Regions from separate parts of the Homo sapiens genome. Here regions 2 and 3 are each linked to region 1. The links are contacts of gene promoters, found by promoter capture Hi-C in blood cells and fetal thymus (Javierre and others, 2016). All regions are on one chromosome and are shown on one strand. The core of a region is centred on a gene start or on the middle of the fragment in contact, and the rest is flanking DNA. Distances in the headings are between cores, read along the strand shown. Region 1 holds the start of CMC4 (C-X9-C motif containing 4). Region 2 has its middle 13 kb from the start of VAMP7. Region 3 overlaps SPRY3 (sprouty RTK signaling antagonist 3).

The links. The method cuts DNA at HindIII sites, captures the fragments that hold promoters and counts their contacts. A CHiCAGO score of 5 or more calls a contact.
Region 2: a contact is called between a fragment that was not itself captured here and the fragment with the promoter of CMC4 in region 1, in 2 of 17 cell types (erythroblasts and total B cells). The highest score is 7.1, in erythroblasts.
Region 3: a contact is called between a fragment that was not itself captured here and the fragment with the promoter of CMC4 in region 1, in 1 of 17 cell types (naive CD4 T cells). The highest score is 7.2, in naive CD4 T cells.

Annotation. Positions count from the first base shown.
Region 1 is chrX:155,068,750-155,073,194 of GRCh38, reverse strand. It overlaps CMC4 (C-X9-C motif containing 4), which reads left to right and starts at 2,059. Exons shown (of 3, transcript NM_001018024.3): 1 at 2,059-2,501. It overlaps MTCP1 (mature T cell proliferation 1), which reads left to right and starts at 2,059. Exons shown (of 5, transcript NM_001018025.4): 1 at 2,059-2,501. BRCC3 (BRCA1/BRCA2-containing complex subunit 3) reads right to left here and starts at 1,687. Exons shown (of 11, transcript NM_001018055.3): 1 at 1,545-1,687; 2 at 852-868. The coding sequence starts at 1,667. RefSeq lists enhancers at 704-1,425, 1,382-1,431, 1,442-1,661, 1,426-2,147, 2,132-2,431 and a silencer at 1,772-2,091. The HindIII fragment of the contact is 6,678 bases long and covers 1-2,562 here.
Region 2 is chrX:155,866,236-155,870,680 of GRCh38, reverse strand. No RefSeq gene overlaps it. Among named protein-coding and RNA genes, the nearest start is that of VAMP7, 13 kb to the left of the region's middle. The HindIII fragment of the contact is 2,309 bases long and covers 1,548-3,856 here.
Region 3 is chrX:155,649,022-155,653,466 of GRCh38, reverse strand. The region is part of intron 1 of SPRY3 (sprouty RTK signaling antagonist 3); the gene reads right to left. Among named protein-coding and RNA genes, the nearest start is that of TMLHE, 38 kb to the right of the region's middle. The HindIII fragment of the contact is 2,374 bases long and covers 685-3,058 here.

The DNA of each region.
Region 1 (4,445 bases), core at 810-3,309:
GCACAAGTGGCTGAGTGTATAAAGTTATAATGGACAAAGCTAAATTCCTGGAATCCTGGGAACTAAGGAGGTGGGCTTGAGAAGTATACTATGGTATGATTTGAAGTTTAAATTAAAATGTTACCGAAAGGTTTCACCACGTCAAGTATTGAAGCTACTGGGGATCTCTGAGATCACTGAGGTCCATCAGGAGGAAAGGCAATGTCACTGTCAATTTACGTGAAGGAATGGATCAATGGGGAAATGCCTCTAAACGTATATGCTCTCTGTCACTAAGAAAATTACTGATATCTCACTGGCATTTAAGGGGAGACAGAACATGAAATACACTGAGCAAGGCCAGGTGTGGTGGCTCACGCCTGAAATTCCAGCACTTGGGGAGGTCGAGGTGGGCAGACTGCTTGAGCCAGGAGTTCGAGACCAGCCTGGCCAACATGGTGAAACCCCGTCTGTACAAAAAAAAAAGACAGCCGGGTGTGGTGGCGGGCACCTGTAATCTCAGCTATTCGGGAGTCTGAAGTATGAGAATCGCTTGAACCTGGGAGGCGGAGGTTGCAGTGAGCAGAGATCGCGCCACTGCACTCCAGCCTGGGCGACAGAGTGAGGCTCTGTCTCACCCCTAAAACGCAACAATTATGATAATGCTTATTAAGATGTTTATCCCATATCTCAACTGAATAGGAGGTAAGGCAGAAACCAAAGTTCAAGGTTGTATCATTAAGGGAGCCCCGGAGTGATAATGGTAATTAATTTAAGACACGATCCGGACACAATACTGCCAAAGTCGCCATAATTTTAGGTTAACAATGACTTAGAGATTATAAGATATGAGTAAACAAATACAGTCTTACCTTGTATCATCGTTCAACTAGAGTGGGAAAAAGCAAAAAACATTATTGATCACATTACGTTTGTTTGACATATATGGATGCAGATTATATGACAATTAGGTCATGTGTTCACGCACATGGTATGAAAGACTGGAGAATTACTTTAGACTGTAAACAGCTAAACTGTATTTCCTCATCCTCTTCGGCCCCTCCTCAACACAATGCAGCGGAAACTTTTGCTTCCTTCAAGCCCCGCACCTTCTGTTAGGCTCTTCGATACCCTTCAAATGCTTTGGTTGATATCTCTGCTCCCTAGACAGAAGACTCGAGGCGAGGCAAGGGGCTCTAACTGTGGTCAGCTGCTGCGTCGTAATACCCGGACATCCTCATTATACTCCAGTGTCTTTCTGACCTGCCTTGCAGTTTTGGTCAACCGGGCGAAAAGCGCAGATCTAAAGAGAAGCCCCAGGCTACAGGAGAAAGGGCAAGGCTCCCGGGGCCTGTACAGACCGCCGGGGGCTCGCAGGAGACTAAACAAGTGTCAGGCGGCCAGAAGAAACGGGGCTCCCCGCGACAGAGCTATGTAAAGGGTGTCCAAGGACCTAAATCGAGGATGCCTGTGGCCTCCGCAGCCCTGGGAGCTGCCGGCACCCACCCCGGGGACACACTGGGACTGCTCAGCAGGGTTCCATCCAGGCTAACAGACCTACTCACCTCCCCTATGCACAGCCCCATTACTTCCTCCTTCTCTGTGCTCAGAGCGTGGTTGAGACAAACGAGGAAAGCGTCAGACTCGAGATGAACCGCCTGCACCGCCTGCACCACCTGCACCGCCATCTTGGCCCGACCCTTCTCACGTCCGCCTCGGGCCCACTTGGTCCTGACCAACCGGGTGCTGCGGCGCAGCCTCCCCAGCGCCCAGCGCTGTGCGCTCCGCCCAGGCCTGGCCTTCGGCGCGCGGGTTCCTAGGGGGCGGGGCTTAGGGAGCGGGCGGGGCTGTGGGGGCGGGGCTGTGGGGGCGAGGAGGGGGCAGCGGGCGCGCGGCTGGCGCGCGGGGGCGGGCCTTGGGGCACGGGGGCGGGGCCCGCCCAGCAGCACCTGGGAAACGCCCGCGCGGTTTGGGGCAGGCGTGGCCGTCGGGGCGGAGGGCGGTGGCCGGCCGCGGTCCGGGCGTCAGGCCGGGCGGCGGGGGCGGCAGGGAGGCGGCGCTCTGGGGCCGCAGGCGGACGTACTCTGTGAGCGGCGCCCGGGCGCCTGGGCAGGCGCCTCCCGAGTACCGGCGCCCATTTTGCCCGCCCGCTAAGGAGACCCGTGCGCGGCCTACACGCTTGGGGGACAGCCCTTTAAGACGACATCTCCGCGAACGCCGGCCTCTTGAGCCAGGGGGACGCTCTTTTGAAAGTCAGTCCCAAAACAGTTAAGGTTTTATTTTATTTTGTTTTATTTCCAAGTCACAGCCCCCGAATCTCGTACAACTCTCCCTGGACCACTTCCGGTTGCCGGCCCGCGCCTCATAACTTCGGTTCGAGTGACCTCGGCCCGGGATGCCCCTCGGCTCACCCCGGGCTCACGTCGCGATCCTGGCTTGAGTGGCCCAGGGTGGGAGACCTGGAAGTTTTAGCCTAGCTGTTCTCAAGGCGGATTAATTAGCCCAAGAAACATTATATTCATGTGAGTAACCTTTTGCAGAAACAGTGTTATACTGTATCTGAAAAAGTATCACTCTTAAGCTTGGCTGCTGCTACTTTCTACAAAGGCTTTTAGGTAGCTATTTGTTGGATACAGGGAAGGGGAAATGGAGAACTTCAGTTTTTATTCAAGTTCGGATGTATCACATTAGGTATCCAGAATGCAAGTTTCCTCGGGTCTCCTTGTCTCGATGATATCAGACAGTAAAAATATATGTAAAAGTAATTTTTATTTCGAGGTATGTCAAACGTGCCAAGGATAAAAGTACAGATCTTCCAACTCACAAGTCTAGGAATCACACGTGGATTTTGAAAGCGATTCTAAATCAAAGCACAATATATGCCGTGCCGCCTCCACAGCCCGTCCGTGTTCGTGTCTTTGATTTGGTTTTCTACTTTGTGTAGTTTTGAAGCCAGGCAGGTATGGCAGTACTGGAAAGGGAACATTCCCAAGGTGCTACTTGAAGTGTTGATGCTTTGCTCTTTTCTCCCAAGTCAGTTCCAACCCAAGTCTCCCCACACATAGGGTCCCCATCCAGTGCAACGATCTGTAATGTGCACGCCAGCAGCCTCCGTTTTTACCTAACGATCTGTAAGGATCACATGGCACATCTTTCTATAATTAATTTGATCATGATGAAGGTTGGAAAATTTTCGTGTGCAGTTACATTGGACCTGTCTAAATTTTCTCTTGTTTCAATTTTATATCATATGTTATTTTCAGTTACTGTTTGTGGCTAGTATGCCCCGTCCTCATGGAGCAGGAACGGCTGTTCTTATTATTATGACATTAACATTTGGTGATGGGATATAGTGCCTTTAGGCACTTTCAAGAAGAAAAATACCTTTTGTTTGTTATCGGCGGTAGTCAATCTCATATTCCAGAATGAGGTTCACTAACTTTTCTAATGCTCATGGCTGCCTTTTACAGCTCCAGGCATTTAACTGGAGTAGAACAAAATTATTAACATTTATGGCAAGCTTATTATATGCTAGATACTAAGCATTTATATGCCTGGTACATGTAAACTGCCCCATTTGGAGTCAAGCTCAACAACTTCCCCACTGTGTGACCTTGAGCAAGTTACCTAACTTCTCTGTGCCTTTCTTTTCCTCACCTTTAAGTGGGGATGATAATAATTCTGCCCACCTCATAGCGCCCTATGAAGATTGTGAAAATTAAATGAGTCAATATATGTAAACATATAGGAAATGCTAAATAAAGACTATCATGATTAATATGTTCTTTAATTCTCATTTTACACCTCAGGAAACTGAGGTGGAGAGACGTTAACTTGTCCAAGGTCACAAAGCTAGTAAGTGACAGACTCAGGACTCATACACAGGCCTGGGCCTGTGTTCTTGGTAATTTCACTCATTGTAATTGGACGAGTTTATTAATTGACTTCTAATAAAATAAGTGTATTCAACTGATCAATGTTTAAAAACTGTTCATCAACCTGGCAATTAAAGCAAACTATACTTTTTTAAAAAAGACACAAAAGAATTTATTCTGTAAAGGAAAAATGATAGTTTTACTTAGATTACTACCTAAGGAAGCCCTTCTATCTTATATGTCATCCATTTAAAACCTAATTTACAAAATGCCTTACTAAGAAATTGTCTGTCTTGGCCAGTGTGCTCTCTGGCCCCGAAATCAAGGTGACCCTCATGGGGACAATCTCTTCTAGTGGATGATAAAGTTATGCAGTTATCTAAACATTTTTGGAATTCATTTGTATTTGTAGCTGGCAGTATTCCTTGAGTTGAGTTGCACAAGTTTATATTCCATGTATTGTATTGCACCTTGTACCTAAGTCTATGTTGAGGTTTTAAAAGATTCGTCTTAGTTCGAGAAGTCCTGAATTTTGTAAACAAGTATCATGTGCAAATAAAATGTTCTCTAGTCAAATAAATTTGGGAAATG
Region 2 (4,445 bases), core at 1,453-3,952, 800 kb before region 1:
AGGTGAAAGTGGCCTCACAGAAGCTGAAATAGGAGAGTGTTTCAAGAGGAGCTTGGTCAGATATACATATGCTGCTTAAAAGGTTGAAGTAACAGTAAGATGGAAAATGTTAACTTGACTGGGACCATGAATCATATTATTGTTGATATTTTCAAGTGTCATTTTATTGGAATTGTGGGGATAAAAGTGTATACCAAAAATAAAATTCTAAGGCCCCCTCAACCATCTAAATGGACTTCCTCCTCGGCCAGGGCTCTTAAAATTTAACCTGAAAGACTGGTTCAGGCCATGAAGGGAAGTGGGGGTTGGACACGCCTCATTATACCTCTCTGGCATGAACATCAACACAGACTTTAAGTCTGATAAGAAACATTTTACAGCCTGTTCTTTCTGAAGCCTGCTAGCTAAAAGCTTCATCATTTGCATGATAAAACTTTTTGGTTTCTGCGACTTCTCATCACAACCCAAGCATTCCTTTCTATTGATCCCAAGTCTTTAGACAAACTCAATCAATTGTCAACCAGCAAATGTTTAAATTTACCTGTGGCCTGGATCCCCCACCCGCTTCTTTGTGTTGTCCCGCGTTTCTGGACCAAACCAATGTATTTCTTAAATGTACTTGATTAATGTTTCATGCCTCCCTAAAATGTATAAAACCAAGCTGCATCCTTGGGCACATGTCCTTAGGACTTCCCGAGGCTGTGTCACGGGCATGCATCCTCAACCTGGGCGAGAGACCTGTCTGACATTTTCTGGGTTCACAAAAGCCACATCAAAGAGGTGATGAAGTAGAGATAGCTTGTGTAGAAAACTCTTTTGAGAAGTTTTTCCCTGAAGGGAGGAAGAAATTTGGTAGCTAGATGGAGATGTAAGGTCCAGGAAAGGATTTTATTTAAGCTAGGATATCCCAGAACAAATTTGCATGTAAGAAGGATCTAAAAGAGATGGGAAAATTGGTGATGCGAGCAAGGGAGGGCAGCAGGGGGAAGACTAAAGGAGAAAAGAAGGTAAGAGGGGATGGTGAGAAGGCATTGAGCTTTAAGCAAAGGATAGCTCCTTCATTTTAAGAATATGACAAAAGGAAAGCAAGTTCATTGGCTCAGAATAAGTTGGGAGAGGTGGTATTGGTGGTTTGAGGAAAGAGAAATACTTATGGACTAATCAGCTCAAAGAGTGGGAAGAGTAAACTTGGGGAAAAGTGGTAAGATTGTCAGATAATATGTTGATTTGAGGTTTGTGAACATGAATTTATTATAAAACATGGTGGGGTTATTTTTTCCTGTGATATTCAGCAAAAGTAGGGCAGGCACAGAGAAGGCAAACATAGGATGATACCATTCATAATATTTTGTAATATATTTCTCTCACTCAGTAATGTATTATGAACCTCTTTCCATGTTGAGTATAGTTTTACAGATCACCTTAAGTACTACATAGTATTCTATTATGTAAGTGTGTTACAGTACTTATCACCTACTGTTGAACAATTACATTTCTGGCTTACCTATGTTGTATACAATGTGATAAAATACCTTGTAATCAAAGCTTTATCTACAAACTTAAATGTTTCCTTAGGATAAATGTCATAGGCCGAAAGAATGAGGGTCGTGATCAACTCAGTATACCACTGGAGGCTATATGAGTGGGCAGCAAACTGTTCTCATCAATGCAGAATGTTGGTAAACTGACAAACTGCATCTGCTGCCCAGAAGGAATGCTGAGGGTAGTCACGACCCAAGCACAGTGTTTCTTGCGATTAGGTACATCTGAAGCCGGTTGGTAATAATATGAACCTGTTATCAATTAAGCAGCCAACCAATCATTACCTCCTCCTCCCTGCTCTTGCTACCCAATAAATATGAAGGGCTGTGGAAGCTCAGGGGCTGCCTATGCTCACTAGAAGCAGGGAGCTCTCTTCTTCTTCCCCTGGACCCTTCCTTTAAAACAGTTTCTTTTGTCTTAAGTTTTCATTTCTATGTTCGTCCCTTCATTCAGTCTTGTAATGATGGTCTCAAGTAGTGACAGTAGTAACTGTCATAGTGACGGTCTCAAGTAGTAACAGTGGCAGTTGGCCACAGATAAGTCTCTGTAATTGGAATCTCCGAGTCAAAGGATATATAAATTTTAAAAACTATTGTTGTATATTGCCAGATTTTTTTCAGAAAAGATTATACCAGTTGATTTACTCCTTCCCTGTGTTAAATACAGTGAGTTCTAAGTTTCTCTTCAAAGAATCAGTATGTCAGTATGTTCAGGTCCTTGTTCTCCATTTTAAAGTTTAACTTTCTCATTCTCTTCATCTCCTTGCCCCTAGTTTCAGTAAACAACCTTTCTGCCAGTTCTAATCAGTAGTTCACATCTGTTCCCCTGGTCACCTGCTCCATCCTGAATCACCCCTGGTCACCTGCTCTGACCTGAGTCTCCCTTAGTCACCTGTTCCATAACCACCTTTCCCACCAAAACTGCTCACCCCGCCTCTCTGGCTTGTACACCTGGTCTCTTTAAAATGGCCAATTGGAATTAGTTTAGACTGTGTGGTCCAACCCTAGCCAATAGGGGAACGACACAGCAGTAGGAGCAACCTGTGTCAGGGATAAGAATCCCTTCCCCTCCCTTGTTCAGGTGTGTTCTCGCCATTGCTCCATCTGTGAGACACACCCTTCTATAGAAGTAAAATTGCCTTGCTGAGAAAATTTATGTTTGAGTGCTATTTCTTTTGTGGCACCGAAAATTTATTTCCAACACCTGGACATCAAGTGATGAAAATAACTTTTTCATACTCTAGTCAGTGCTGCTATTTTCATTCTATCTTATCTGTGGATGTTTCATAGGCAATAAATTATAACTAACTCATTTTCACTTGCATTTATTAATTACGAATGAACTTAAACCTTTGTAAAAGTGTTTTTGTTTTAAAATTATTTTTATTGCTGTTTGTTTTTAATTATTTTGTGAATGACTTGTTCTGCTTTGTTTTGTTTTTCTATTGGTATTATATTGGTCACTAATTTTTTACTGAGATATATTTGACATCTCTTAAATTGCTATCCATTTTCTTACTGTTTTTATTCTACAAATAAATATTATAAATATTTATAAGACATAGTTTATCAACTTAACAAAATGATTTGAGATGCCCTATAGTATTAAAACATAAGGTAGGATAGATTAAAAATAGATTGGAAAGGAAATTAGAAATTAAGAAGAGAAACTATTTGAGGAATCCAGGATAAAATATTTATTTTTTATGAGTGCTAAATTTATCTCTGTGCTTCATAGCAGCCAATAGAAAAGAGAAGTACATATTTTTGTTTTTTTTGGTTTTAATTATCATTATCTGACAGAATGTGTTTATCTTGAGAGGCAAAATTTTCCCCAACAGTGGAATCTGGGAGTTTATTTCATGGTCTCTTGTACAGAAAACAGTAACAATGGATGCATAATAAGTACTCACAATATTAACTATTATATTATCTAAATGACAGTTTGCAAGAATACTTTTTGAAAATGAAGTATGCAAGTTCATACTTGACAGCTAGGTCGGTACTTCAAAGGCCTGTTTTGCTTTCAGGTTCTGGGTGGTGTTTCAAGTAGTTGAGGTTGCCTGAAACCTGGCCTCCATATTACTGGGATATTTCTATTCTTGAATTTTTCTAGGTATGTACTTTGTGGATAGAAGTAGTTCTATATTTGGATAAAGTATTTAAGATAAATAAACTATTAAAAGGTGATTTCTGTTATCTTCCCTAAGAAAAAGAAATGAATTTCATGCAATTCTTAGCATGTTATATGAAATTCATTTCCAAGTTGGCTGATGAAAAATAATCTTCCCATTTCATACTGTCAGACCAAAGCTTTTAAGTAGGAAAATGTACTTTAGAGTCAAGACAGTATAAGTATGTGATGGCCAGATATTCACAATAAAAATTTTTAATAATATTGGATATTCAGGAAGAACTACGAATCTAACCCATCTTTTGGTCTTCAGTTTACTATGATTTTTGAGGAAACAGAGAATACTTATACTTCCTGGTACCTTCCTAGCTAAGAATGTGTTTATTTTTTTCTACACGTGTAGTTTCTGCCAGCTATTGTCTTTCTAACCTTTTAGGAACAGTAAGATGCTGACATCGGAGTTTGAGCTCACAGTGAGCTGTTTTGTGCCACTGCACTACAACTTGGGCAACAGAGCACGACTCTGTCTCTTGATAAAAAAGACACCAAATGCAGTAGTGCTGTTTGTGAACATAGATTTGAGTGACACAAGAGTAACAGATAATCACTTGTTTCTAGAGTTAGAAGCCAAAATGCCTGTTTTTCCTACCAAGTGCTAAACCCTGAAGTATTCTCATCTGTGATGTAAACTTTGGTCACATTGTGTCCAAAATTGGTGGGTTCTTGGTCTCACTGACTTCAAGAATGAAGCTGCAGACCCTCCTGGTGTT
Region 3 (4,445 bases), core at 622-3,121, 580 kb before region 1:
ATATCCACATGCAAAAGAATGAAGTTGGACCTTTACCTAACATTATGTATAAAAATTAACTCAAAATAGTTCAAAGACCTAAATATAAGAGCTAAAACTGTACCAATATTAGAAGAAAACTTGGGAATAAATCATGATGTTGAATCAGGCAATGGTTTCTTAGATATGGCACCAAAAGCACAAGTAACAAAATTTTAAAAACCATAAAATGGACTTCATCAAAATTCAAAACCTTAGTGCATCAAAAGACATTATTAAGAGGTGAAAAGACAGAATGAGAGAACATATTTGCAAATCATATATCTGATAACTAGATAAGGGTCCATATATCTGATAACTAGATAAGGATCTAGTGTTCAGAATATATGAGTAACTCCTACAACTCAATAATAATGAGAAAAGCAACCCAATTTAAAAATGAGCAAATGACTTGAATAGACATTTCTCTAAAGGAGATATGCAAATGGCCAGTAAGCACATGAAAAGAGGCTCAATATTAATCACTGGGGAAATGCAAATCAAAACAACAATTAGATATCACTTCACACCCATTAGGATGCTAATAATAACAATAATGGCAGAAAATAACAAATGTTGGTGAGAATGTAGATAAACTGAACCATCAACGAGAATTTAAAATTGTGCAATCATGGCAAAAAACATTCTGGAAGTTACTCAAAAGCTTACACATAAAGTTACTATATCATCCAGCAATTCCACTCCAAGATATTTACTCAAGAGACTCAAAAACAAATATCCAACCAAAAATATGCTCACAAATGTTCATAGAAACACTATTCACAGTAGCCCAACAGTGGTAACAACCCGAGTGTCCCTTAATAGATAAATGTATAAATGAAATGTGGTATATATACACACAATGGAATACTATTCAGCCATAAAAAGAAATAAAACAGGTCCTGTCATTTGCAACATGAAATAAGGCAGGCAAGAAAGACAAAACATTGTGTGTTCTTACTTATTTGTGGGATCTAAAAGTCAAAACGACTGAATTCATGGAGATAGAGAGTAGAAGGATGGCTACCAGAGACTGGGAAAGGTTGTAATGGGCTGGGGTGAAGGAAGGTGGGGATAGTTAATGGATAAAAAAAAAATAGTTAGAAAGAATGAATCAGACCTAGTATTTGATAGCACAACAGTGTGACTATAGTCAATAATAATTTAATTGTACATTTTAAAATAACTAAAAGAGTGTAATTGGATTGTTTATAACACTGATATGGTTTGGATTTGTGTCCCCGCCCAAATCTAATGTCAAATTGTAATCCCCAATGTTGGAGGAGGGGCCTAGTGGGAGATTATTGGATCATGGGGGCAGATTTCCTCCTCGCTGTTCTCCTGATGGTGAGTTCTCATGAGATCTCGTTGTTTAAAAGTGTGTAGCACCTCTACCTCCCTGTTTGCTCTCTTCCTTCTGCTCCAGCCATGTAGGACGTTCCTGCTTCCCCTCTGCCTTCTGCCATGATTGTAAGTTTCCTGAGGCTTCCCCAGCCATGCTTCCTGTACAGCCTGTGGAAATGTGAGCCAATTTTAAACCTCTTTTCTTTATAAGTTACCCAGTCTCAGGTAGTTCTTTATAACAATGCGAGAATGGACTAATATGAACACAAAGGATAAATGCTTGAGGGAATGGATACCCCATTTTACATGATATGATTATTATGCATTGCATGCCTATATTGAAACATCTCATGTACCCCATAAATATATACATATACTATGTACCCATAAAATTAAAATAAAAAATGTTAAAAGCATGATACATAAAATGAAAATTGGTAAGTTAGACCTCATCAGAATTTTAAAGCCTTTTGCTCTGCAAAAACTCTAAGGATAAAATGACAAGCAACAGACTGGGATATTTGTAAATCTAGGACTAGTATCTAGAACATATTTTTAAAATTCAAAATTCAATAATTAGGAAATGGACAAAAGATATAGACATTTCATTGAAAGGAGTATGCAAATTGCAAATAAGGCCATGAAAAGAGAAAATACATCATTAGCCACCAGGGGGAACTGCAAATTAAAAGCACAATGAGATACCCCTATAAACCTACCAGAATGTCTAAACTTAAAAATACCTGGGCTGGGTGAGCTGGCTCATGCCTGTAATCCCAGCACTTTGGGAGGCTGAGGTGGGCAGATCACTCGAGACCAAGAGTTTAAGACCAGCCTGGTGAAACCCCGTCTCTACTAAAAATACAAAAATTAGCCGGGTGTGGTAGTGTATGCCTGTAATCCCAGGAGGCTGAGGCATGAGGATCTCTTGAACCCAGGAGGTGGAGGCTGCCGTGAGCCAAGATTGCACCACTGCACTCCAGTCTGGAAAACAGAGTAAGACTCTGTTTCAAAAAAAAAAAAAAAGTGATAACATCAATGGTGGTTAGGATGCAGAGAAACTGGATCACTGATACATTGTTGGTGGGAATATAAAATAGTACATTCTCTATGGAAAACAGCTTTGTGTTTTCTTAGAAAAATAAAAATGTAATTACCACATGCCCCTGAAACTGTGCTCTTGAGAATTTATCTCAGAGAAATGAAAAATGATGCTATTGAAGAATTCTGTACTTAAGTGACTGTAGAAGAATGCTGCATTGGGTAGAAATAGCCAAGGTCTAGTATCTTCATAGTGCTCAGTTTTTGTCTGGGAACTTTCCAGCAAGAATTTGGCACTCCATCAAACCGCATGTCAGATCCCCAAACTGCTGCAGCTGAAGGCTTTCAGCTAAATGCACCTACTGTGGAGGTACTTTCCTGAAGGGAGAGCAAGGTGGTACACCACACGGCTGCTGCACAAATGTACAAAAAATTCAATATGTAGAGGACTTGAAAAACCCAATTAATAAACTTGATCTAATTGACATATATAGAACGCTGCATCCAATTACTGCAGAACACGTATAGCTTTCAGATACATATAAAACATCTATAAAAGTTGAGCATATGCTGGGTCATAAATCAATTTATAATTCTATTGAGCTCAAAATTAAAAATCGCTAAAAATCTACATTTGAAATTTAAGCAAGAAGCTTCCAAAGTAATTAAAAAATTAAAGAAGAAATAACCATGAGTACTTAACAACACACTGAACTAAAGGACTATAACAATATATCATAGTTTTGTTTGCTTAGGATTGTCTTGGCTATACGGGCTCTATTTTGATTCCATATGAAATTTAAAATAATTTTTTCTAATTCTGTGAGGAAAGTCAATGGTAGCTTAATGAGGATAGCATTGAATCTATAAATTACTATGAGCAGTATGGCCATTTTCACGATATTGATTCTTCCTATCCATGAGCATGGAATGTTTTTCCATTTGATTGTGTCCTCTCTTATTTCCTCGAGCAGTGATTTGTAGTTCTCCTTGAAGAGGTCCTTCACATCCCCTGTAAGTTGTATTCCTAGGTATTTTATTCTCTTTTTAGCAATTGTGAATGGGAGTTCACTCATGATTTGGCTCTCTATTATTGGTATATAGGAATGCTTGTGATTTTTGCACATTGATTTTGTATCCTGAGCCTGCTGAAGTTGCTTATCAGCTTAAGGAGTTTTTGGGCTGAGACGATGGGGTTTTCTAAATATAAAGTCATGTCATGTGCAAACAGAGATAATTTGACTTCCTCCCTTCCTATTTGAATACCCTTTATTTCCTTCTCTTGTGTGATTACCCTGGCCGGACTTCCAATACTATGTTGAATAGGAGTGGTGAGAGAGGGCATCCTTGTCTTGTGCCGATTTTCAAAGGGAATGCTTCCAGCTCTTGCCCATTTAGTATGATATTGGCTGTGGGTTTGCCATAAATAGGTCTTATTATTTTGAGATATGTTCCATCAATATCTAGTTTATTGAGGGTTTTTAGCATGAAGGGGTGTTGAATTTTATTGAAGGCTTTTTCTGCATCTATTGAGATAATCATGTGGTTTTTGTAATTGGTTCTGTTTATGTGATGGATTACATTTATTGATTTGCGTATGTTGAACTAGTCTTGCATCCCAGGGATGAAGCCTACTTGATTGTGGTGGATAAGCTTTTTGACATGCTGCTGGATTTGGTTTGCCAGTATTTTATTGAGGATTTTTACATTGATGTTCATCAAAGATACTGGCCTGAAATTTTCTTTTTTTGTTGTGTCTCTGCCAAGTTTTGGTATCAGGATGATGCTGGCATCATAAAATGAGTTAGGGAAGAGTCCCTCTTTTTCTATTGTTTGGAATAGTTTCAAAAGGAATGGTACCAGTTCCTCTTTGTACCTCTGGTAGAATTCGGCTGTGAATCTGTCTGGTCCTGGGCTTTTTTTGGTTGGTAGGCTATTTAATTATGCCTCAACTTCAGAACTTGTTATTGGTCTATTCAGTGATTCGACTTCTTCCTGGTTTAGTCTTGGGAAGGTGTATGTGTTCAGGAATGTATCCATTT